Linked DNA regions of Homo sapiens: regions 2, 3, 4, 5, 6 and 7 are each linked to region 1. The links are contacts of gene promoters, found by promoter capture Hi-C in blood cells and fetal thymus (Javierre and others, 2016). All regions are on one chromosome and are shown on one strand. Each heading gives the region's core, a stretch centred on a gene start or on the middle of the fragment in contact. The rest is flanking DNA. Distances are from core to core; before and after follow the strand shown.

What was found. Contacts are between HindIII fragments. The CHiCAGO score rates a contact against its expected background, and 5 or more counts as called.
Region 2: a fragment that was not itself captured here is called in contact with the fragment with the promoter of PPARD in region 1 in 2 of 17 cell types (naive CD4 T cells and naive CD8 T cells); the score reaches 6.1 in naive CD4 T cells.
Region 3: a fragment that was not itself captured here is called in contact with the fragment with the promoter of PPARD in region 1 in 1 of 17 cell types (non-activated CD4 T cells); the score reaches 5.6 in non-activated CD4 T cells.
Region 4: the fragment with the promoter of CLPSL2 here is called in contact with the fragment with the promoter of PPARD in region 1 in 9 of 17 cell types (total CD4 T cells, erythroblasts, naive CD8 T cells and 6 more); the score reaches 9.4 in total CD4 T cells.
Region 5: a fragment that was not itself captured here is called in contact with the fragment with the promoter of PPARD in region 1 in 1 of 17 cell types (naive CD4 T cells); the score reaches 5.2 in naive CD4 T cells.
Region 6: a contact is called between a fragment that was not itself captured here and the fragment with the promoter of PPARD in region 1, in 7 of 17 cell types (naive CD4 T cells, naive CD8 T cells, activated CD4 T cells and 4 more). The highest score is 11.6, in naive CD4 T cells.
Region 7: a contact is called between the fragment with the promoter of LHFPL5 here and the fragment with the promoter of PPARD in region 1, in 3 of 17 cell types (fetal thymus, activated CD4 T cells and total CD8 T cells). The highest score is 5.9, in fetal thymus.

What each region holds. Positions count from the first base shown.
Region 1 is chr6:35,341,308-35,344,775 of GRCh38, forward strand. PPARD (peroxisome proliferator activated receptor delta) reads left to right here and starts at 1,251. Exons shown (of 8, transcript NM_006238.5): 1 at 1,251-1,374. RefSeq lists silencers at 1,103-1,312, 1,493-1,632, 1,663-1,712. The HindIII fragment of the contact is 7,732 bases long and covers 545-3,468 here.
Region 2 is chr6:35,723,167-35,726,901 of GRCh38, forward strand. It overlaps LOC285847 (a long non-coding RNA gene), which reads right to left. Exons shown (of 10, transcript NR_027117.2): 10 at 3,596-3,735. It also overlaps a transcript of FKBP5 not described here. Among named protein-coding and RNA genes, the nearest start is that of ARMC12, 12 kb to the right of the region's middle. RefSeq lists a silencer at 2,676-2,852. The HindIII fragment of the contact is 3,649 bases long and covers 242-3,735 here.
Region 3 is chr6:35,669,812-35,673,206 of GRCh38, forward strand. All of the region lies in intron 1 of FKBP5 (FKBP prolyl isomerase 5), which reads right to left. Among named protein-coding and RNA genes, the nearest start is that of MIR5690, 6.7 kb to the left of the region's middle. RefSeq lists a silencer at 2,295-2,494. The HindIII fragment of the contact is 2,635 bases long and covers 18-2,652 here.
Region 4 is chr6:35,774,971-35,778,536 of GRCh38, forward strand. It overlaps CLPSL2 (colipase like 2), which reads left to right and starts at 1,628. Exons shown (of 3, transcript NM_207409.4): 1 at 1,628-1,732; 2 at 2,489-2,611. The coding sequence starts at 1,649. RefSeq lists a silencer at 1,609-1,738. The HindIII fragment of the contact is 8,503 bases long and covers 1,420-3,566 here.
Region 5 is chr6:35,643,472-35,647,168 of GRCh38, forward strand. All of the region lies in intron 1 of FKBP5 (FKBP prolyl isomerase 5), which reads right to left. Among named protein-coding and RNA genes, the nearest start is that of MIR5690, 19 kb to the right of the region's middle. The HindIII fragment of the contact is 3,770 bases long and covers 1-3,251 here.
Region 6 is chr6:35,742,691-35,746,166 of GRCh38, forward strand. All of the region lies in intron 3 of ARMC12 (armadillo repeat containing 12), which reads left to right. Among named protein-coding and RNA genes, the nearest start is that of ARMC12, 7.4 kb to the left of the region's middle. The HindIII fragment of the contact is 7,406 bases long and covers 1-3,476 here.
Region 7 is chr6:35,803,843-35,807,234 of GRCh38, forward strand. It overlaps LHFPL5 (LHFPL tetraspan subfamily member 5), which reads left to right and starts at 1,510. Exons shown (of 4, transcript NM_182548.4): 1 at 1,510-2,240. The coding sequence starts at 1,829. RefSeq lists a silencer at 1,379-1,548. The HindIII fragment of the contact is 6,136 bases long and covers 1-1,631 here.

The DNA of each region.
Region 1 (3,468 bases), core at 1-2,500:
GGAGGTTGACATCTAAGTTACAAATATAATGCACAAGCATTTCAAAAAGTAGGGGAAAAAAAAGAAAAAGAAAAAGAGAAGCAGAAAGAAGGGGGAAAAAATCACTCATCCCTGCCAGGCACGGTGGCTCACGCCTGTAATTCCAGCACTTTGGGAGGCTAAGGTGGGAGGATAACTTGAGTCCAGGAGTTCAAGACCAGCCTGGGCAACATGGCAAAACCCTGTCTCTACTAAAATTACAATAATTAGCTGGGCGTGTGGCGCATGCCTGTAATCCCAGCTACTTGGGAGGTTGAGGCAGGATAATCGCTTGAACCCGGGAGGCGGAGGTTGCAGCGGGCTGAGATTGCGCAACTGCACTCCAGCAGGGGCGACAGAGTGAAACTGTGTCTCAAAAAAAAAAAAAAAAAAAAAAATCACTCATCCAGATAGCTAGGTGTGGCCTAAGGAGCTTGCGGCCTACGGAAGGTGTGGCCGAAGGAGAGGGGAGGGGTCATCTTTAATGATGATGGAGGGGAGGCATTGGTCATATACCTGAGAGTCAAGCTTTGTTCATCGTCAGATGAAAGCCAACTTCTTCCACCAGATTGCCTCCCAGCTGCTAGGTAGTTTCCTGTGGTACATCTTAAGCGGTAGGTTGGGATAATAGGTCCCTTCCAGGTCTTAAAGATGTGGATTAATAAGAACAGAATTTTCTACAACAATAAGGAGGATGTCCCCTATTTTAGGTGAATAAGCGTATTGCATAAGCACATGGGAAGAAAGGTTAAGAACTCTAAGACCGTAAATTTCCAGTTGTAGAAGCCTCTTGAAGGCGGAAAGCCCTTTTTTGAAAATTATAGGCGATATGATCTCCTCCAGTGGACCTAGCACTGGGTTAAGAGTCTCTCCAGACTTGTCACTGCAAGTCACGTACCTTTTCTAGGACTAAGTTTCTTCACTGGAAGATGAGGAGGTTGCACTAGATGACCTAGAAATTCCCTTCCAGCTTTAAATTCCCTCTTGTGTCACTTGCTGGACTTGTTCTACTGGACCTGGCGCTCCCCTGCTCCTCCCTTAGCTGCTACGTCCGCATCCCGCACCAGAGGGCGCCACAGGCTGGCCCGGGGCAGCGTGCGGTGGGCGGAGAGGCAGAATTAGGGGAGTCTCCAGGAGGCGTGGTGATTGGCCGCCGCCGGGCGGAAGGGGGCGTGGGGAGGGAAAGGCCGAGCAGCGCGGTGACGTCTCGCTGGCGGGGGCGGGGCCGGGCCGCGGAGCGTGTGACGCTGCGGCCGCCGCGGACCTGGGGATTAATGGGAAAAGTTTTGGCAGGAGCGGGAGAATTCTGCGGAGCCTGCGGGACGGCGGCGGTGGCGCCGTAGGCAGCCGGGACAGGTCAGTCCGAGACGAGAGAAGCGGTCAGGCAAGTGGCGGAGGGAAGCGCCGGGCCTGGGCCGAGGCGGCCAGCGGGACTGGGGCGCAAGGCCCGGCGGCGGGGAACGGGGTGCGGGGAGCTGCCGGGGTCCGCGGACAGCGTCACGGCGGCTTCCTGATGCTCCGGCCCGCTCCGGTCAGCCGTCGTGCGTTGCCATGTAGGCGCCCCGCTGACCCTGCGCCCCCCCGCCCTTGGACCCCCATAGCTGCTTGAGTGAGTCCGAAATACGGGCCTCCTTCCACCCTACTCTTTGCCCCCTCTTGGGCCTGGTGGCTTCGTCTTCTCCCACTTGTGAGAACCCCGTCTCAGGCCCGGGGGCCTCTCCCATTCCCCTCCCCTGCCTCTGACCTCTTCCTTCACCCGTTTCTGGTGTTCCTGAATCCACTGCCCTATCTAGCGAGAGTCTTCTCTGGGATCTTTTCCTCTGTCCCCCTCGTTATCCTTGTCTCCTGCCTTCATCCTCCCATCCTTGCTCTCTCAGGCTTTACTCTCTCTCCCCATCCCTGTCCCCTTCTTATCTGTGGTCTGATCCCTCCTAGTATTATGGGTCCCCATCCTCTTCCCCAGGGTGTTCCTAGGCTTTTTCCAACTCCGTGCCTGCAGTCCCTGTCTCCCTAAGACTCTCACCTTGGTTCCCTGAGAGGCCCTGTTTTTGCTCCTTTTTCCGATTTCCTTCGTATCAATTCTGTCCCCTACATTCCTGTCGCCCACCTCCTTTTCTCTCCCTGTTCCTTTCCCCTGCTTCAGGGAGAAGCCTTAGCTCCACACTCTACTCTACTTTCACTTGACCTGCAGTTGACATAACCATGGGGTGGGGGTGGAGGTGTTCAGACCTTGATCGAATTAAGAGGCTGATTGACTAAAGGAAATAACAGATTGTGTGGGAGAATGTACGTGGGTGTTGCATCAGAGATGATGTCCAATTTGTAGGCCATTCTTCTTATCTCAGCTTTAATACTTCCCCTTTATGGGGCTGTTGACTTCCAGGAACCCTTGGGGGAGACGGCGCTGAGCTGGATGTGTGCCACGGGTAGCCGGAGGCTTTGTCCAATTCTTTTCCCCTTCCAGGAACCGGGGTTTTGTGTCTTTCCACTCTGGATGTGTGGAATACACTTATACCATGATACCCCAGCCTCTCTCTGCCCTCACTCCCACCCTCCACCCTGTGCTCCATCCGAAAGGACTAAGAGAATTCTCCAGAAGCTGTGCTCCAGAAAATACTTGTGGTCCTCAACCTTTTTTCTGTGTACTGGCTCCAGAACTTTTTTTTTTCCCGTTTGAGTTTTGAAATAGATTGCTGGCCTGATAGCCCTGGGGCTGGCGGGCATCTGTCCCCTTTTATTATTGGTGGCTTGAAACAGCTGCTGATTTTCTCTCATATCTCTTTGACAATCTTTGGCCAACTGAATGTGCCTCTGATGTTGGTCACTGAACATGTTCTCTTGGAGTCTCTTCTCCCTCTTTTTTCTTTGTTCTTTTCTGAATCTAGGGAATCCAAATTGTCCCTCTTTTTCCCTGGGAGCTTAATTTCCTCTGTATCCAGGAGGAACGGCAATCCCAGAGCTCTGTTCCCTTTGCCCAGGCATAGTATGAGGTATCAGATTGATAACTACCCTGGTGGGCTGTGGGGCTGCAGTAGTTAGACCTTGTCAGGAACTTGAGCAGACACATCTGCTTCCAGTCACATAGATCATCTTCTCTGGGGCTTGAGAGCCCACCACCTTCCATGTGTGTCTGGATGTTTAACCTTACCAAGCAGAAGATTCTCGTCATATCCTTCAGTTTGAGCTCCTTTATTTGGCGTTGGTTCTCTAAAGAAGTATTCAAGAAATAACATATCCTTTGTTTCTACCCAGTCTGATCTTGGAGGATTCTGAAAGCGTGACCCACTCTCATGTTTAGAAATGAAGGCTCATTGTTTCACCTGGCCCCAGGTTTCTAGGGGCTCCTCTTTTGATGATTGTGCTGTCTTTGAGCCAGATTGGACATGGGAGTTGGCAACCTTTAGGAGCTGCGGTGGAGAGCCAAAGGAACCAGCTTGACCAGACTTTAAA
Region 2 (3,735 bases), core at 816-3,315, 380 kb after region 1:
AGGTTGCAGTGAGCTGAGATCACACCACTGCACTCCAGCCTGGGCGACAGAGCGAGACTCCATCTCAAAAAATAAATAAATAAAATAAAATAAAAATTAAAATAAAAATAAATAAATAAATGCCCAGGCACAGGTGTAGGACTTTGGTTCCCAGGGCATTAACTCAATTCCTGGGACACACAGTAGGTGCTCTGTAAGTGCCCACTGGATTAACAAGGCTGAGCAATCTGACACTGGCAGAAGCTTGGGGCAAGGTGAGGCATAGGGCGTGGAGGTAGGAACAAATGGAAGATGCTTCCTGGGAAAAAAGATGGTGTCAGAGGGAAGAAGGCAGAAGGGATCTTGGGAAAATTCCCAGAAGACTGGAAATACAAAAAGCAAAAATAAAAAGTAAACACCGATAGATGGAGGTAAACAGGACTCTCAGTGAACAAGGAGAGAGAAATTCAGAAGGAAAGATAAACAAAGAAGAATGAACTCAGAGAAAGAAGAAGGTCAGAAAGACAAAATGTGCCCATGAGAGCCATATTGGACAGATTGCCAGAGACCAGGACAGACCAACTAAATACATTACGTCTGGGGTCCCTGCTTCATCCCCTGGGGGTAGGCAGATAAGGCTGGCACGGGCAGTGTGGTGCTGTGGTCCCTTCCTTGGGTGATAGGGCTGAGTGAAAGCCCACACATCATCAGGACATCCTGGAAAACTTTTCCTCTCTTAGCTCAGGAGAGGCCCTGTGATAGGAAACAAAGTACCCCAGACAGCAACTACAAACCTAGTTTCTTGCCCTTAGGCAAGCAACTTAGCTGCTCTTGCTTCAGTTTTCCCAGCAGGAAAGCGAGTCTGATTCTTACTTTAGAGGCATATTAAGATCATACTGAGTTAAGGCAGGTACATTAAATGTACACAGCCTGATATAAGTGCCAGGGATTGACATAATGGTGGTGCTTTCTCCCAAAGGCCTGCTGTAAACGGGTCCTAAGAGAGGCCGTGTCACTGTCACTGGGTGCTGCAGATAGACCTGACTTCAGAGCCCTGGAACCCAGGCTCAGCCCCTGGTTTTTGGATCCCAGAGCCAAATCAATACAACCAGGAAGTTTATTCCTGGGTGAAGGGTGAGGGGCAGCAGGCATGCCAGCCAGCCAAGAGACACACGGAGCCCACAGCCAGCAGGCCTGACTGTCCAACTCCACTGCTGAGACTGTCCTCTGGGGCCTTGCTAGTATCCAGATTTCAGCCTGTCGAATGGGCTAAAAACAATTTTCTAGCTGTCAGATCACACCTCAAGGCATGCAGGAGCTCCAAGGAGGCAGAGTTCTCCTTCATTTGAAGGGAGAAGGGAGTAAGACTCTGAGGCTTGAGAAATGGAGAATTTGCATTTTAGTTACATAATCTGAGCAATCTTGAAGACTATTTTGAAGTGCTGGCTTTGGCCAGGTGTGATGGTTCACACCTGTAATCCCAGCTACTTGGGACGTTTACTCAGGAGGCTGAGGTGGGAGGACTGCTTGAGCCCCAGAGGTTGAGGCAGCAGTGAGCCATGATCTCCCCACTGTACTCCAGCTTGGGCAACAGGGTGAGACCTTGTCTCAGAAAAAAAAAAAAAAAGGTGCTGGCTTTGATGTCAGACAGACCTGAGTGTGAATCTCAGCTGAGCTCTGTTATTTTTCTGAGCCTCAGTTTCCTTAACTGTCAAAGACGGCTAACAATAGCACCCACACCCCAGAATTGTTGTGAGGAGTAAATGGGATCCTGTAAATAAAGACCTGAACCTCAACCTTGGGTCTAGTAGTGAGTCTCCTGTGCCACAGTCTTTGGGTTCCAAACGCTGTTGGGGGTTGGTGTGCAGAGATAGTTCTCCATATAAGCAATCAAGATTAGCCATCAATGTGAATAATAATATCCCATGCTCCTGGGGGAGAAAGGCCAGATCATAAACGTATTGATCTCTCAATATCTAAGCCACTTTGAGGAGATTAAACTGGTCACAACTCAGAAAATCATTGAGAAATCATCAAGTGTCAAATTCCATTAGGAATGTGTGACTCCTGGGGGTGAGAGGATGGGTAGATCCCCCTCCCTGCCGCGAGGCCCCCACCTCTGCCTCTGTTCTCTGTGACTGACAAGGAAGGATCTGTGATTACCAGGTCTGCCGAGCTCTTGGAGGCAACTTACATAGTGCTGTCACTTGTCTAGCTGGGCTCAGGAATATTGCTAAAAGGCTTGGGAAACAAGGCTGGCAAGGGGAGAGGGATCAGCCTCAAGGGTCCAGAGAAACTCCAGACCTGGTGTGGAGACTCCACAGCTTTAGAGGCAGTTTCAAGGCTGGGTGATGGGAGAGAGAAAGGACTGGGGGCTTCACCCTTCTGGAGTCTAACTTCTCCAGGGTCTCTCTGCACCCCACCTTCCCACCCCCAGCAAGAGTTTAGAACCTAAAGACGGGGAGTGGGAAGCAGGAGACTCATTTCTTGATCCATGGGGAGTTGGGGAGCCCAAGTGGAAGATGGGGAGATGAGAGCAGGGGTAACTGACAGCAGGATGCCACAGCTAAAGAAGGAAGTATAAATATAAAGCGGCCAGTGTAGGACTGGACAGAGGCCATATGAAACACACGGTACATTCCGGTCCCAGCGTAACAAACTGTACCAGCCTTTTTGAGAGCTGTGAGCACTAAAATGGGGAGGGAAGAGAGCAGAGGTTCCTTCGAGGTTGGCCCTGCCTCCTCCTCCCCCACTTCTCCCACAGCTCGGGGCACCGCAGGGAAAGTCCTGATGTTCCTTTTGCAACCACAGGAAACCTACCATCCCTGCTCACACTCTGTACCCTGTTCCTCTCAGCAGCTCCAGACTGGGAGGGAGCAATGAGTGTGTATGCATGGGGGTGTTTGGGGGAATGTAGGGTGCAGACAGCCCCAGCAGCCCAGGTGACACCCGGAAAGGCGGCAAGCATCACTTGGATACTGACTGGAAGTCACAGCCTGTAAGGGCTGCAAGAGAGGTACAGATGACGGTGAGGAAGTGCCTTGTCCAAGGTCACACAGGCAGTTGTTCACCAGGGTGGGACCAGAGTGCATCCAGAACTAGGCAGTGCTGGGCAGCTCTCTTGGGTGTAGTACGTAGGAGTGGCAGGCCAGAGAACAGGCAGTGCCCAGGGACTGAGGGTGGGGAGCCCAGATCCAAGGCTGCCTCTATGCTCTGGTTGGCTTTGGGAAGGCAGGCCTGGCTTGGGCACTGTGCCCTCCAAGCCTCCCAATCCTATCCCCCCAACCTTAAATATTAGAGATAATGCATGTGAAGTGCCTAGCGTGGAGGTTGTTTTGTGGTGATGTCAAGCAGAATGAGTCACGTCCACCCCTCCCATCTCCTCCTCCTCCACACACACACACACACACACACACACACACACACACACACACACAGCTCAAGGCCTAGAACCTCCTGGGATCTTTCTCCCATATCTTTCTCCCTAGAACCACCTTCTTTCTTCTGAGTCCCTATAGCTATTACACACATTTGGTACTCACCACCTGCTGGCTTGGGTTATTATTTAACCTAACATCCAGCGTGTTTGTCTCTTCAATTGCCCAAGGGGAGGATATCATTTCAATACACCCAATATTTATTGAACATGAACTCCGGTGCCAAGCCTGGCCTGTGGGGGATGAGTTGGAATGGTGGTGGGAGGCGGGGGCAGTGGAGGAGAGGGCTCAAAGAAGAAGCAGACTTTGTTTCTGCCTC
Region 3 (3,395 bases), core at 85-2,584, 330 kb after region 1:
TTCTGAAAAATTGAAAAAGCTTTCTTTACTGGACAATAACTATAAAAGTCACCCTGTTTCCTTTTTTCTCTTGCTTGCCAGGAAGCTCAGAGCTAAATTTAATGTTCAAACACAGAAACTATCTTGCCTCAGATTACTGGTATAAAGATTTCTTCCCATTCCCCCATTCTGCTCATTATTTCTCAAGTGATTTATGCTCATTTTCTGTCTTTGTTTTTAATGGTCTTTGCCTGTTTTGCTTTAATCACAAACTATCAAATCCTTTTCAATGAATAGGTTAATATAAATTATAAATTAAAGAAAACTTAATGACCTTAGTTTGTATCTTCACATCACTGCATAACTTGTTAATGCAATTTATAAAAAATGAAGGTTCTAAAAGGTATCTTTGCTGTTTTAGAGTTAATTATTTCACATGAATCATGATTCACGATTCACTTTTAGAAAAGCCAATGACAATTTTTTTAAATAAAAGAATGATAGAATGAAACAAGGATCAAAACTTAAAATTACTAAATTAGAGACACAGAATTAGGAGGATTCAAAATTTTTTAATGTTTTAAATTTACTAACAAAATTGGTCTGGCAAAGCTAGATAACTATCATAAAAAATTAACTTACATAAAGTGTATTAAATTCTCAGTGGGCACGGTGGCTCATGCCTGTGATCCTAACACTTTGGGAGGCTGAGGCGGGTGGATCACTTGAGGTTAGAAGTTCGCCCTGGCCAATATGGTGAAACCCCGACTCTACTAAAAATACAAAAAAAAATTAGCCGGGTGTGGTGGTGGGCACCTGTAATCCCAGCTACTCGGGAGGCTGAGGCACAAGAATCGCTTGAACCTGGGAGGCGGAGGTTGCAGTGAGAAAAGATCGTGCCACTGCACTCCAGCCTGGGCAACAAAGCAAGACTCCATCTCAAAAAAAAAAAAGAAAGAAAAGAAAAGAAAAGAAAAACTCATATACTGCTATCTGTGTCATTAGCTGCAGAGTAGACAACAGGTATAAAAATATTGAAATAGCCTAGGAATCTAAGAAAAAGGGAAAAAACTCAGTCACATATTTAAAAAATATAAATGCACACATACACATGAAAATATCTCATATATGGTAATACCAAAGTTTGTTAAATGGAGGTAAAAGCAAAGTATTAATGAAATTAATAAGCCAGGTGCAGTGGCTCATGCCTGTAATCCCAGCACTTTCTGAGGCCAAAGTGAGACGATCCCTTGAACCCAGGAGTTTGAGACCAGCCTGGGCAAAACGGTAAAACCAAACCCTGTCTCCACAAAAAATAGAAAAGTTAGTTGGGCATGGTGGTGCACACCTGTAGTCCCACCTACTTGGGTGGCTGAGGTGGAAGGATTGCTTGAGCCAGGGAGGTAGAAGTTGCAGTTAGCTGAGATCGCACCACTGCACTCCAGCCTGGGTAAGAGAGTGCAATCCTGTCTCAAAAAAAAAAAAAAATAATAAATAAATAAACAAAAACAAGTTAAAAGAAACTACAATCCAAACTGACAAATCTAGCCAAAATCTTAAAAAATATATCATGAATTACAGAAAATCTAGAATATAGTCATATTAAAAATGGAAAAGTGAAATGAACACATTTTATAAAAGAAAAGACAGCCTATAAAGCGCCTAACATTATATTAAAAGGTCCCCACTTTTAGGAGACACAAATAAAATGAAAATAAAGGGAAGGAACAAGGTAGCCAAATAGTATCTATAAAATGAAAGTGAAAAAGTCAATTATCCCTTTCTCTCTCAAGGTATCAGAATTGCAGGGTAAATACCTAAAGAAGTTAAATTACAAAAAACTTCATATTCTAAGAATGAAGTTAACAGCAAAATTTATTACTATGTAAATTTAAAAGGCTAGCAACCACCCATAAATACAGTTTTAACATATTTTTTTCAAACAGCAATAAAATAATTCAACATAAGAAAACATTTAAAAAATAGAAACAGAAGTTCCAACACAATATATGAAGGGGCTAAGAGAAACCTACACACACAAACTCAGCCCTCAAAAGAACCCTAAAATCTAATTTAGAAGAATTTTTTTTTTTTTTGAGACGGAGTCTCACTCTGTCGTCTAGGCTGGAGTGCAGTGGCGCGATCTCGGCTCACTGCAAGCTCCGCCTCCCGGGTTCACACCATTTTCCTGCCTCAGCCTCCCCAGCATCTGGGACTACAGGCTTCCGCCACCACGCCCAGCTAATTTTTTGTATTTTTAGTAGAGACTGGGTTTCATTGTGTTAGCCAGGATGGTCTCGATCTCCTGACCTCATGATCCGCCCACCTCGGCCTCCCAAAGTGCTGGGATTACAGGCGTGAGCGACCGTGACCGGCCACTATCTTCTCGCTTAATAGCATAATTAGAAGATAAAATTTGTTATAAAGGGTAATCATCCAAATACAAAACAAGTTACAGATCAGAAAAGGGGGGAAAAAATCCCCTTTTACCTTCAGAAAAATGAAGACAAGAAAAAGAAACCAAACCATGAGAAATATAAATAATCTGATACAAAGTATTGAGGACATGGAAAAAAGTTTTGTATAGGCATTTGTGAATTATACAATTCAACTTCAGTGTTTAAAAATAATAAAGAAAAATTAATATTTCAGTAAAAATCAATCTAGTCCAGAAGCTTGCTTTTTTTTTTTTTTAAAGAAATAATGTGGCAGATTGCAGAGGTCTACGACATCTTTATGCATCCCAGGCCACTTTTTACCTCTCTAATCATGGGAAAGAATACACAACATGAAAAGCTTACCATTTGCAAAATGATTTCTTGATTATGCTTATGGCGACTAAAAAGTATTTGTGGCTGGAGGCGGTGGCTCACGCCTGTAATCCCAGCATTTTCGGAGGCTGAGGCGGGCGGATCACAAGGTCAGGAGATTGAGACCATTCTGGCTAACACGGTGAAAACTTGTCTCTACTAAAAAAAAAAATACAAAAAATTAGCTGGCGTAGTGGCAGGCGCCTGTAGCCCAAGCTAGTCGGGGGGCTGAGGCAGGAGAATGGCGTGAACCTGAGAGGCGGAGCTTGCAGTGAGCCGAGATCGCGCCACTGCACTCCAGCCTGGGCAACAGAGAGAGACTCCGTCTCAAAAAAAAAAAAGAAAAAAAGTACTTGTACATTATGCAAATGTTCAAAATGCAGAGAGGGCAAATGTATTTAAACATACGTTTCCAGGGAAGAAAAGGAAGTGATGTGATAGTGAATTGGTGATTGGGAATTAACATTATATAAGAGAAAAAATTACCAGCCCTGTAAAAAGGGAAGAGAATATTTATTGAGCAACTGGTATGGCCAGACGCTAAGCTTAGGGCTTTATACCTTCTATCACATTACATCTAGGTAGAAAAACAATGTAGAAGAAAAT
Region 4 (3,566 bases), core at 378-2,877, 430 kb after region 1:
GTGCCATTGCACTTCAGCCTGGGCAATAGCGTGAGACTCTGTCTCAAAAAAAAAAAAAAAAAAAAAAAAAAAAAAAACCAAAAAAACCCCCAAAACAACTGATCCTCTCTCCTTGGCCTCCCGAAGTGCTGTGAATACATGCATGAGCCACCATGCCCAGCCAGAGGCCAGTCTTATAGATGGCTACAGGATGGAAGAAGGGTATCTTGCCCCAAATCAGACTGTACATAAAGCATTATTGTGCCAAGCCACGAAATTCCAGGAGTTCTGTTGTTACAGCCAGTGTTAATTACTCTGTGACAGCTAGTGTTAATACAGGGAGGGCTCACGGAAATAATGGATACAAGGCCCTCTGAGTGCGGTGGGGGCTGTTATTCTTGGCTGTTATTCCCCACCAAGACAGGATTCCTCGGTTCATTTCTTAAGCGAAACTTCAAAAGCAGAAGCAGGCTGGGAGTGGTGGCTCACGTCTGTAATCCCACCACTTTGGGAGGCCGAGGCAGGAGAATCTCTTGAGCCCATGAGTTCAAGACCAGCCTGGACAACATAAGGACAACCTGTCTCTATAACAAATATTAACAATACAAAATTAAAAAAAAATAGAAATTAAAAAAAAGCAGAAGCAGGCAGGTGGGGTGAGGTGGAAGCTTCATCCATAGGGAAGTCCTGAGGAAGGCCTGCCTCCCCCGGTTCCAGGATTGCTCTGTGCAGCTCTAGCTCTCCCTTAACCCTCCTCCCTATTCTGAGTTTTCTTCTCTTCCCACTTCTCCATTTTGCCCCCACATCTTGACTTTCACACAATTCACAGACAAATCCTTAGACAATTAATAGAATGATTAAGACTGCAAGAGATTTAAGACTTAGAGACCATCTTGTCCCACCTCCTGGTTCTTACAGAAGAGGAGAATGGGGCCTGCAGCGGGTGTGAGCAGCCCAGAGGGTGGGGCTGGATTATCCCGAAGGTAAGGGGAGAATCTGGGGCTGCAAGGGCAGACAGAGAATCAACATCAGGAAGGAAGCTCTTTTTATTTCAGCATATATGTTTTGTGCCGTTTATAAAAATAAAGTTTTGAGGCCAGGTGCGGTGGCTCACACCTGTAATCCCAGCACTTTGGGAGGCTGAAGCAGGACCATCACTTGAGGCCAGGAGTTAGAGACCAGCCTGGGCGACATGGGGAGACCCCCGTCTCTACAGAAATTTTTAAAATTATCCCGGCGTGGTGGCGCACACCTGTAGTCCCAGCTACTCGGGAGGCTGAGGCAGGAGGATCACTTGAACCTGGGAGGCGGAGATGGCAGTGAGCCGAGATCACGCCACTGCACTGGGCGACAGTGCGAGACTCCGTCTGTAAAATAAATAAATACAATAAAATAGAGTTTTATCTTACAATAAAAATAGAGTTTTATCTTACAGTTTCAAGCTTCTACTTGGAAGTAACACGTATGGAGGCTCCCAGGGCCCCTACAGTCTGGAATCCCGCCCGTGCGAGCCTGAGCGCCTTTCCTCCCTCCTTCCCTTCCGCAGGCGTCCTCGCCCTCCACGTCCCTCCTCCGCCGGGGTGGCCTGGGGCGCCGGGTCACGTGGCCGGGGAAGAGGTTTTATCCCGCGGCCCCTCGGAACCCCGCCGCTGCTCTGCCGCCCAGGCCCATGGCCGCAGCCCTGGCGCTCGTGGCGGGGGTCCTGTCGGGGGCGGTGCTGCCCCTCTGGAGCGCGCTTCCGCAATATAAAAAGGTGAGCCGGGGAGCGCGCCCAGCCGGCCGCGACCGCAGGAGAGGGTGGCCCCGCCGCCGGGGCACTGGAGCCCGAAGGCGCCGGGCAGCCTGAAAGGGAGAGGTGGGTCCGGAACCACACCCAGGCGGGTAGCCTGGGGCATCCTCAGACGGACTTCAAAAGCCGCTTCACTTTCCCCTGGTGGCCTCAGAGGGGAGAGAAATTGGCCTATGACCAGCACCCTCGCTCCCTCCACCTCCCCCGCCCGTGCCCCTTCCGATGGCCTCAGTCCTGGGCTCGCTTCCCTCCCCAAACTGCTCACAGGCAAACCCACCCTGCATGCTCTGGTTTCTCCTCCTCTTCTTCCACCTCCTCTCACTGTCTAGTGATTCTTCCAGGCACGAGGGCTCTCCCCTTTTCTCCTCTTTCTCTCCCTCTTTTTCGAGCCCGCAGCCCCTTCATTCTCATCCCCCAACCCTGCCCCGCAAAATGGGACTTAAGAGTACACACCCCATGGGACTCATGGAGGTGAGGGGGGTCCAGGAAAGGAGAGGCCGAGGGAAAAGTGCTAATCCCCCTCTCCTCCTCTCTGCTGCCCTGGGTCCTGCTGAGGGGCCGGGGTGGGGCTGGGGGGGGAACCAGCCCCCCAAGGGGTGACAACCTCATGACTTCTCCTGGATCCCTGGGCTCTTTGGCAATGGTGGGAACCCTCCCCTACCCGCCCACACGACTCAGGGATTGCTCCCAGCCTGGCAGACATTCTGCCTGTCCCCACAGAAAATCACAGACAGGTGCTTCCACCACTCTGAGTGCTACAGTGGCTGCTGCCTCATGGACTTGGACTCCGGTGGAGCCTTCTGTGCCCCCAGGGCCAGAATAACCATGATCTGCTTGCCCCAGGTGAGGCCCTAGTATGGGGCAACTTCTGGCAAGTAGAGAAGCGGGCAGGGAGGTTAAAAAAAAAACACCTGGCCCCACCTGTTTTTTCACCTCTGTCTGGAGTGCCCTTCTTCTTCTCCACTTGGCAAACTCCTACTCATGGTGCAAAACAACTCCAGCCACCTCCTCTGAGAAGGCTTCCCTCCTTGGAGCTCCTGTACCCTGGGGTCAGACCCTCAGCAGACCATGTATCTCCCTAACTGGCCATGTCTTTTCTCTGCCTCTCCCAGTGGTTGGAACTCTTCAAGGGCAGGGATCGCATCATATTCATCTATGAAGCACCTACCCCCAGCTTAGTATCTGCACATAGTAGGTGCTCAATAAATGCTTATTGTTGTTTGTTTGTTTGTTTCGAGATGGAGTCTCGCTCTGTCACCCAGGCTAGAGTGCAATGGCATGATCTCGGCTCACTGCAACCTCTGCCTCCTGGGTTCAAGCGATTCTTGGGCCTCAGCCTCCCGAGTAGCTGGGATTACAGGGGTGCACCGCTATGCCTGGCTAATTTTCGTATCTTTGGTAGAGATGGGGTTTTGCCATGTTGGCCAAGCCGGTCTTGAACTCCTGACCTCAGGTGATCCACCTGGCTCGGCCTCCCAAGGTGCTGGGATTATAGGCATGAGCCACCGTGCCCGGCCAATAAATGCTTGTTGAATGAATGAATATCTCTTCTCTCACACCACTGAGGCAGGGTAAGTAGGAAATGACCTTCCCCTTACTAGTCCCCATCTCCCTGCCACAGTGACATGATTTCTTGAGAGGAGCATGGCACTGCAGTGGCAGGACCACAGCTTTGCAGTTGGACCTGAGTTTAAATCCTGACTTTTCCACACCCTATCTTTGTGACTTCAAGCAGGTCATCATGGCTCTCTGAGCCTTAGTTTCCTCATCTACAAGGAGAGGCTAAAGTACCTACCCC
Region 5 (3,697 bases), core at 117-2,616, 300 kb after region 1:
GTCATTTTTCATCTCCTGCCCAAAATACCTACAGAATGTTCTTCCATGTGGCATTCAAGGCCCTTCACAATCTGGCCCTAATCTATCTTTGAGTTCTAGCTGCCATTATTTTATTTTACTTTCTTTCATGCAGCTCATGCTCCAGCCAAACTAGGCCAATTCCACCTCTACAACAAACCCAGTGCTTTCCCATAGTCATTCTTCTGGTCACTCCCTTTCTTGTTTCCAAAACATCCACCTCTCTCAAATCCTACTTCTGTCATACCAACCTTGACCCTCTATTTGTAGGCCATTTTGCCCTTTTACGTACTTCCTTAGCTCTTCTCTCGATTTGTTGTCTGTAAGAGATTCATAAGACTATGCGCCTGTTAGGTTTAAAAGATCCTTCAGAGCAAGGTCCATGCTTTGTTCATATTTAGATTCCCTAGAATGCCTCTACCTTTGAGAATGGTAAGACAAAAAGTGCAAGGAATTTGTAATGGAATTTGGGGGTGTTCTTCCTCTGCTCCTTACAAGCTGTTTGATGTTGGCTACCTTAACTTCTCTAAGATTTTTTCCTTACCTATGTGATTAGAATAAAAATATCTGTTTTCACAGATAATCTTCTGAAGTGGTATAATGTGTATTTTTAAGGTATACTATTCAAATGTTAGCTCTTATTGTTATTGGTAGTCACCTGACAGACATTTTTTCATGCAAGGCAAGCCAATGTAACCAACAGGCTAATCATAGGCTAAGCAAAACACACCTAACCACTGCCATGATGAATTCCACACTGCTCCCTGTTTGGGCAGGGAAAATCAAGAAGGAATCACTCCTACAGCTATTACACATTAGGCTAATAACAAACTTAATGCCCCCTAAACTCATCTCCTGAGCCTTCTTGTCTACAGAGTCAAAGAGTCTTTCTGCACTTGCAGAAAATGTCTTATTGATACAACTATAATTAGACAACTAAAACATATACTGTAGTGTTTTAACTCATTTCCAAATGACCACTATTCAGTTCAACAGAGACACAAATCCAATTGTTGTGCCCCAAAATCTTCAAATGAGAACACCAAAAACCAGGGGCTAAGTCTCTCTGCTCTAGTTTCTAGTACGCTTTATACCAAACATGAAAGATCCAAATGTTTGGCTCAGGATAAGCGAAAGGCCAGAACAATCGTTCTCAAACAAACAACAAAAATTATGTACCTAGCTCTACATGAGGTGAGCTAGATAATCAGGAAAATCAGAAGAACGGGATTGGTTCCCAGCTTCTAGAAACCCACTGCTTATAATATGCTTCTGTGATGCACAGAAACTTGTAAAAGGCACCTTGATAACAGAGGGAAAAGATCTCTTAAATATTTGGAGGGTCCTGGACTGTATGCCTGGGAAAATATATGCACACAAAAAAATTTCCTGGGGATTCACAGAGATGCTGACATCCATCAATAGATCTCTGGGTGTAAAGCACTGAACAAATGAAAACCACCAGGTGAGAGGTTATTGGGAAAGTACCCCACAGATTACTTATTATTAAAAAAGGAAAAAGACCTTTCAAGTAAAACAATCTGACTGATAACACTTTAACAAATGATCTGCATCATAACCAAACTCTGCATCACCAATAATGAAAAAAAGTGCTATTACTCTGTCTCCTAATATGATGTAGTGATGTGATTTAGATGTGCTATCACCTATGTGCTATCCCTATCAAAAATGTTTAACCTGAAACTAACCAGGAAGAAAAGACAAAAACAGATTGTGGAGCACTCTACAAGACCATTGGCCTACACTCCTGAAAAAATGTTAACAACATAAAGAACCAAAAAGGTGGCGTGCACCTGTAGTCCCAACTACTCAGGTGGCTGAGATGGAAGGACTATTGATTGAGCTCAGGAGTTTGAGACTGCAGTGAACTGTGATCATGCCACTGTACTCCAGCCTGGGCCGAAGGGTGAGACCCCATCTCTTAAAAGATAAAAAAAGAGAGAGAAAGAGAGAGAGGGAGAGACGGGAGGTCTGTTCCAGATTAAAGGAGACTATAGAGATATGACAACCAAGTGTAATCAGTGATCCTTGGCTGGATCCTGGATTAGGGGACAAAATATAAGAACTTGGAACAGGAGACTGCATATTAGCTTATTACTACTATATGTCAGCCTTTTGGAATGTGATATAGTATTATGGTTTTATGCAGAGTAATATCCTTGTTCATAGGAGACACATGCTGTAGTATTTAGGGGTGAGGTGTCATGATATCTGCCACTTGCTTTCAAATCATCCAAAGACAATGCTTTCTTTTGAATGTTCATCATTTGGAGTTCAGCTAAATTTTTAAATGAAAATACTGTCAATGAAGAAATGTTTTCAGGCTGGGAACAGTGGCTTACGCCTGTAATCTCAACACTTTGGGAGGCTGAGGCGGGTGGGATCACTTGAGGCCAGGAGTTTGAGACCAGCCTGGCCAACATGATGAAACCCCGTCTCTACTAAAAATACAAAAATTAGCCAGGCGTGGTGGCACACGCCTGTAATCCCAGCTACTCGGGTGGCTGAGGCACAAGAATCACTTGAACCTGGGAGGCAGAAGTTGCAGTGAGCCGAGGTCATGCCACTGCACTCTAGCCTGGGTGACAGAGCAAGACTCTTTCTCAAAAAAAAGAGAGAGGAAAAAAAGAAACATTTTCTTTTGGTTCTCACCTTGCTATTTTGAAAACAATGGCTTGTTTAAATTCGAGTAAATAGGCAACCTGTATAAGCTGATTTACTAGCTTTCTAAATCCCATTTGATAAAGGAATTAGCTCTTCATGTTTTGGCTCCAACACTTCAAGGGATGCAAGTCATCTTAGTAATCTCAGAGGATGGCTCTTGTCAGTAGTACTGAGTCCATATGAAGAGAAGTACTATGAATAATTAAAACACAAAGATAAAAACAACAAGAAAACAAACTTTTGAACTTTCAAAAGCAGATAAAGCTGGAAGAATAAAGACATAAACTGAATTTTCCAAGTATTTCCCCTTAATTCCAGTTAAGCCATTAGGAGTATAGGTTTTTGTAAGCTAACAAAACAAATAAAACTTTTTCCTTGATTGAATGTTATATAAAAAAGACAGTAAGGACAGACAATTCCTAAAAACTGTAATGACACACTGAGACAGTTTCACCATTTTTATAAGAGAGACTTTTCTTCTTTCCCTCACCCTAGATTTATTCTGGATTTAAAATCACTATGTAGCTATGGATATTAATCTATGATAAAGCTTACTGTGCTGAACTGTCCAAAGGCGGAAAATTGCTACCCAATGCATCAGAAAGGGAACACAGTTCGTTCTGTTATGGACATGGCAGATAAGCATACACTCTCCAAAGTGCTAGTCAGCAAACACCTGAGACATAACAGAAAAATGAGAATACACTTAATATTTTATCAACAGTGTACTAAAAATTTCAGTTAACATAACTAAACTATCAGGTCCCCCAAATGAGAAGTCATTTTAAAGCCATATCTACCAATTCCCTATGTATATTATGTAAATTACTGTATTGTTCTCTTTGTTAAAATATCAGTGTCTTGCCTCAGATTATGCTACTAACAGGAGAGTTTTCAGAAAGATATTTCTTTGGTAAACTTATTTTTCTTCTCGGAACAAATAATTACTGAAGAAAACAAAGCTAAGAGACCACACTTCCCCTGACTCTGAGTG
Region 6 (3,476 bases), core at 557-3,056, 400 kb after region 1:
TTCCATCTAGCTGTGCCCTTCTGGATCTCTGCAGCCTGTGGGCTCCCCTGCCTTCCCCATGGGCAGCTGCTACTAGGCATATCCACTTAGATGCCCTCCAAGTTCTCTAACCCAACATATCCAAAATGGAGCTCACCCCATTCCCTGAATCAGCCCACTCTCTCCAGAGGGCTCTTAGGCCATCAGGCCCTTTGGGTCTGCCTCAAGGCTCTCAGCATAAAGTGCGTGATTGGCCATGGGCTGCACCTCCTTGCCCTAACCCCAGCCACGTACAATGCATGCTTTATGCTCTCACATGCCCCCTTGCTGCTGTTCCCTCGTTCTGAAACCCTGTCCCAGACTTGCTGACTCCAACCTGTCCTGCGGGTCGCCACGGCTTTTGAGGGGTGGGGGAAGGGAAGGGCAGGTACTGATGGGAATGCTCACTTCCACTCCAGGACTCTTGCTTACTTCTTACATGGCTCATAAAGGTGCAGCTCGTGAGGTTACCTGTCTTTGGTAATGCCTCTAGGTCCAAGCATCTTACTTTTTTTTTTTTTTTTTGAGACGGAGTTTCGCTCTTGTTGCCAAGGCTGGAGTGCAATGGCGCGATCTCAGCTCACCGCAACCTCCGCCTCCCGGGTTCAAGTGATTCTCCTGCCTCAGCCTCCCGAGTAGCTGGGATTACAGGCATGTGCCACCACGTTCCGCTGATTTTTTGTTTTTGTAGTGGAGATGGGGTTTCTCCATGTTGGTCAGGCTGATCCTGAACTCCCAAGCTCAGGTGATCTGCCCACCTTGGCCTCCCAAAGTGCTGGGATTAAAGGCGTGAGCCACTGCGTCCTGCCCGCATCTTGCATCCTAGAACCGAAGATCCCTTTATTCACTCAATAAATGTAATATTGAACACTTTGTGCCAACACGCTGCTCTAAGTACAGGAGAGAAAGCAGTAAACAGAACAGGGAAGATCCCTGTGCTTGTGGAATTTATATTCTAACAGGGCAAGGCAAGCAATACACAAATAAGTAAAATATATAGTGTGTTTCATGTGGTAAGTGCCATGGAGAAAAATAAAAGGCGGGGGGTGGATAAAGGAGTCTGGGTGGGGGTGATGCAGTTTTCAAGAAGAAAATCTTGAACCCAGGAGGCCTGTAATCCTAGCTACTCAGGAGGCTGAGGAAGGAGAATCACTTGAACCCAGGAGGTGGAGGTTGCATTGAACCGAGATCACCACATTGCACTCCAGCCTGTTTGATGGGAGTGAGACTCCATCTCAAAAAAAAAAAAAGAAAAAAGAAAAAGAAAATCTTTTGAGATGTTGGGCTTGGTGAAGAGTTCATGACATCAAAAGCATGATCTATAAAAGGAAAATCAATACATTGGACTTTATTAAAATTAAAAACATTTGCTCCATGAAAGATCCTGTTAAGAGAATGAAAAAAGCTGCAGACTGGGAGAGTGTATTTGTTTTTGTTTTTGTTTTTGTTTTGAGATGGAGTCTTGCTCTGTCACCCAGGCTGGAGTTCAATGGCACAATCTCGGCTCACTGCAACTTCCGCCTCCCGGGTTCAAGCGATTCTCCTGCCTCACCCTCCCAAGTAGCTGGGATTACAGGTGTACACCACCATGCCCAGCTGATTTTTGTATTTTTAGTAGAGACGGGGTTTCACCATGTTGGCCAGGATGGTCTCGGTCTCTTGACCTCTTGATCCGCCCACCTCGACCTCCCAAAGTGCTGGGATTAGAGGCGTGAGCCACTGTGCCTGGCTGAGGGAGTATATTTGAAAATCACATATCTGATAAAGGACTCAGCTAAATTGTATCAAGTGCTTTCAAAACTGAATGTTAGGCCAGGCATGGGGGATCACGAGGTCAGGGGTTTGAGACCAGCCTGGGCAGCATGGTGAAACCCCATCTCTACTAAAAATACAAAAACTAGCTGGGCATGGTGGTGGGCACCTGTAATCCTAGCTACTCAGGGGACTGAGAAAGGAGAATCACTTGAACCTGGGAGGTGGAGGTTGCAGCGAGCCGAGATCGCACCACTGCACTCCAGCGTGGGCAACAGAGTGAGACTCTGTCTAAAAACAAAAACAACCCTGATGTTAAAACAAGCAGTCCAATTAGGAAATGGGCAAAATACATGAACAGATATTTCACTGAAGAGGATATATGGATGGCAAATAAGCACATGAAACCATGTTTAATATCACCAGCCATTAGGGAAATGCAATGAAGACCATGCTGAGATATTACTGTGCACCTATTAGAAGATCTAAAATCAAAATTAGTGACGATACCAAATGCTGGCAAAGATATAGAAAAACCGGATCTTTCATATATTGCTGGTGGGAATATAAAATGGTACAGCAGCCACTCTGGAAAATAGTTTGGCAATTTCTTTCAGAACTAAACATACATTTACCAATTCAGCAGTTGAACTCTTGGGCCTTTATCCTAGAGAAATGAAAACTTATATCTGCACAAAAACCAGTACACGATTGTCGATAGCAGTTTTATGTGGAATAGCCCCAAACTGGAAACAACCAAAAATGTCTGTCAATCGGTGAATGGTTAAACAAAATGGTATAGCCATTACCATGGAATGCTACTTAGTAATAAAAAGGAATATAATATTGATATGCACAACAACTTGGATGGTTCTCAAGGGCGTTATGCTGAGTGAAAAAAGCCGATCTCAAATGATCACATAAAGTGTGATTTCATTTATATAACATCCTCAAACTTAAAAGGTCATATATAGAGATGGAAAACACAAGTGGTTGCCTGGGCTTTGGGCTGGGGGAGCAGGTGGGAGTGAGTCTAAAGGGGTCTCTTGAGATAGATCTTTGTGGCAATGGGACAGTTCTGGTGGGATAATCTGTTGGCTGCAGTTGTGGTTACACAAATATGTGCATGTGCTGAAATGACATAGAACTATGCACACATATTACACCAACACCAATTTCCTAGTTTTGCTATTATACTATAATGCAAGATGTGACCATTGAGGGGAACTGGGTGAAGAGCACATGGGACCTCGCTGTACTATTTTTGCAACTTCCTGTAAATTTATAATCATTTCAAAATAAAGGCCGGGCGCGGAGGCTCAGGCCTGTAAACCCAGCACTTTGGGAGGCCGAAGTGGGCATATTACCTAAGGTCAGGAGTTCAAGACCAGCCTGGCCAACATGGCGAAAACCCGTCTCTACTAAAAATACAAAAATTAGTTGAGCACGGTGGCGTACACCTGTAATCCCAGCTACTTGGGAGGCTGAGGCAGGAGAATCGCTTGTACCTGGGAGGCAGAGGTTGCAGTGACCCAAGATCTCACCACTGCATTCCAGCCTGGGCAACAGAGTGAGACGGTCTCCAATAAAATAAAATAAAATAAAATTAAATTAAAAAACAAAATTAAAGAAATGAAAATGTGTGTTACACGTGACAATGCTGTAGAGAAAAATAAAATAACAGTGGAGGGTGGTAAGGAAGGCTG
Region 7 (3,392 bases), core at 260-2,759, 460 kb after region 1:
CCAAAGTGCTGGGATTAGAGACCACTAATGTACCTTTGAGCACTTTAAAAAAAAAATTATTATTATTATTTTTTGAAATGGAGTTTTGCTCTTGTTGCCCAGGCTGGAGTGCAATGGTGCGATCTCAGCTCACTGCCACCTCTGCTTCCCGGGGTTCAAGCAATTCTCCTGTCTCAGCCTCCTGAGTAGCTGGGAATACAGGCACCCGCCACTACGCCCGGCGTAAGTGCATTTCCTGCATTTAATAGATGGCGAAACTGAGGCTCCGGAAGGAAGGTTAAGTCCATGGATGGTTACTTAGTAAGTAGCTCATTCAAATCCAGGCCTGTTGAACCCCAAAGTCCATGTTTTTAAGATTGTCTTGTCTTTCCTTAGCTCCGGACGTTGGTGTTATTATTATTATTATTTTTTTTTTTTTGAGACGGAGTCTTGCTCTGTCACCCAGGCTGGAGTGCAGTGGCGCGATCTCGGCTCACTGCAAGCTCCGCCTCCCGAGTTCACACCATTCTTCTGCCTCAGCCTCCCCAGCAGCTGGGACAACAGGCGCGTGCTGCCACGCCCGGCTAATTTTTTTGTATTTTTAGTAGAGACGGGGTTTCACTGTGTTAGCCAGGATGGTCTCGATCTCCTGACCTCATGATCCGCCTGCCTTGGCCTTCCAAAGTGCTGGGATTACAGGCGTAAGCCCCACGCCCAGTGGAATTTTCCTAGTTCTTTACACTAGCCATGTATTTACCTATAAAATCAGGAGAAATATGTATATATATAATATATTAAAACATATATATATTTAAATGGGGAAATATGTAACAAACAAATAGAAACAAGGGGAGAAAGGCATTGTATTTGACAAAACACATATGTTCAGGTCTGAGAAGGCTCATAAAGAATGTTGTCTGCTATACTTTGTAGTTGCTTCTGTTATCACACAATCAGTCTGCATATACAGGCGTTTTATATATATATTTATATAGACTACATATATACGTATATTATATATGTAAATATTTCACTGTCTTTGAGGACGGGGGCCCTGTCTTTTTTATCTGTGGTTTTGCTTAGATGTCCTCCAACATAATCTTAACACATAGTATGCTTTTAGAAATCGTTGACTGAATGCTAAGGACGAAAAACCGGTGACCAGAAGGCAACCAGGAAAGGCTTTGCTGACCTCCGGAGTGGTGGAGTTGGAGGTTCTGGGAAGGCGACTAGGGAGCCAGGCAGGGGCGGGGTGGGATGGGATGTGGACAGCGCTTTTGCGGGGGGAAAGCGTTTTTGCTGCTGGAATTGAGCAGTAGGAATGTGTCAGTCACATCCCCACCTTCCCAATTCTTGTCATCTCGGTTCAGGAAGGTGAACGGTGTTCCGATTCCCCGCGGCGGGGGCCTGTAGTGGGAGCTCTGCCCCTTCCCCGCCTCTGCTGCAGGCCCCGCCCCTCGCCCGGAACCCCGGGGCGCTGGCCGCGGTGCTGAAACGGCGCCCTCCGCGGACGGAGGAGGGGGCGGGGCTCTCGGGAGCCGTGAGCCGGGAAGAGGGAGACGGGCAGGGCGGCGCCAGCAGGCCCTGGTGGGCTTGGGAGGAGGCAGGAGACTGGAGACAGCCTCGGCTAGAGCGGACACAGGCACCTGGCAAGCTTTCCTTGACCAAATCAAGGTTGTCCTTGTCCTATTAAGCCTCTTCCCCTTGCCTTGAAGGGACCTCACCTGGTGCCCTGACCTCAGCCTCCTCCCCAAACCCCGCTGGGGAGTGACCTGCTTCTAGGCCTCCATCCACAAAGCTACGGACTTGCAGCCCACGGGACCCCAGCCCAGGGCCTGCTGCCCTCACCATGGTGAAATTGCTGCCGGCCCAGGAGGCAGCCAAGATCTACCATACCAACTATGTGCGGAACTCGCGAGCCGTGGGCGTGATGTGGGGTACCCTCACCATCTGCTTCTCCGTACTGGTCATGGCCCTCTTCATCCAGCCCTACTGGATCGGCGACAGCGTCAACACACCGCAGGCAGGCTACTTCGGCCTTTTCTCCTACTGCGTGGGTAACGTGCTGTCCTCCGAGCTCATCTGCAAGGGCGGCCCCCTAGACTTCTCCTCCATCCCCTCTAGAGCCTTCAAGACTGCCATGTTCTTTGTGGCCTTGGGCATGTTCCTCATCATTGGCTCCATCATCTGCTTCAGCCTGTTCTTCATCTGCAACACGGCCACAGTCTATAAGATCTGTGCATGGATGCAGCTGGCTGCGGGTAAGCAGAGATGGTGGGAGGGCAGGCAGGGGCCCACCCCGGGGCCACAGCTGCAGCTGCACCATCCCAGCCTCTGCCAGGGCTCTGGGCCTTAAATTTAGCTGTTCTCCTATAGCCCAGTCCTACTCAGTGCTCTGCAGAAGATTCTGAGGAGTTGAGAATCTTAAAATGGCAGAGGCAGAAAAGACCTTAGAGACCAAGCTGTCCAACCCTCTCATCCTACAGATGAGGTTCTGAGCCCAGAACCTCATCTGAGCCCAGAACCTCATCTGTAAGGGGAAGTGACTTGCCCAGGAGCACACAGTTGCCAGTCCTGATTCCCAGGCCATCACATCAGTTTTTGCAGCTGTGAGAGAGAGAAAGAAGGAAGCTTCCATTGTTGGCCATGTGGGAATAGGACTCAACCCTAGCACAAAGTAGTGACACCAGTCAAGCACATTCTAGATGCCTTCATCTCCCACCTCTGGGCTTTTGTTCTTTTTAAGAGTGCCCAGAACTCTGTCCTCATTCTCTCTCTCCCACTCCAAACTGCTCTCAGATTCTAAGGTCTCTTGCTGATTTTGGAGTGTTACTATTATGCAGGGTATGACCTTGCCTATAGAAACTTTCATCTAAATTCCCCTCTTTCATTGTGGAGTGAAAGTCTTTTTTCCTTGATCATGGGATTTTATACTTAAGGCAGCAAATGGAGTGATATTTTGTGAGGTAGAGGAAGCTATTTAGGGTCCTTTTGTTGTTGTTGTTGTTTGTTTGTTTTTTGAGACAGAGTCTCACTCTTTGGCTCAGGCTGGAGTGCAGTGGCATGATCTCAGCTGACTGCAGCCTCAACCTCCTTGGACTTAGGTGATCCTCTCACATCAGCCTCCCAAGTAGCTGGGACTCCAGGTGCGCACCACCATGTCTAGCTAATTTTTTTTGTATTTTTTGTAGAGACGGGGTTTTGTCATGTTGCCCAGGCAGGTCTTGAACTGCTGGGCTCAAGTGATTTGCCTGCCTCAGTCTCCCAAAGTGTTGGGATTTCAGATGTGATCCACAGCACCTGGCCTAGGGTCCTTTAAAACAATGTGGGGGCTGGGCACAGCGGCTCACACCTGTAATCCCAGCACTTTGGGAGAGAGCATCACTTGAGCTCAGGAGTTTGAGACTAGACTG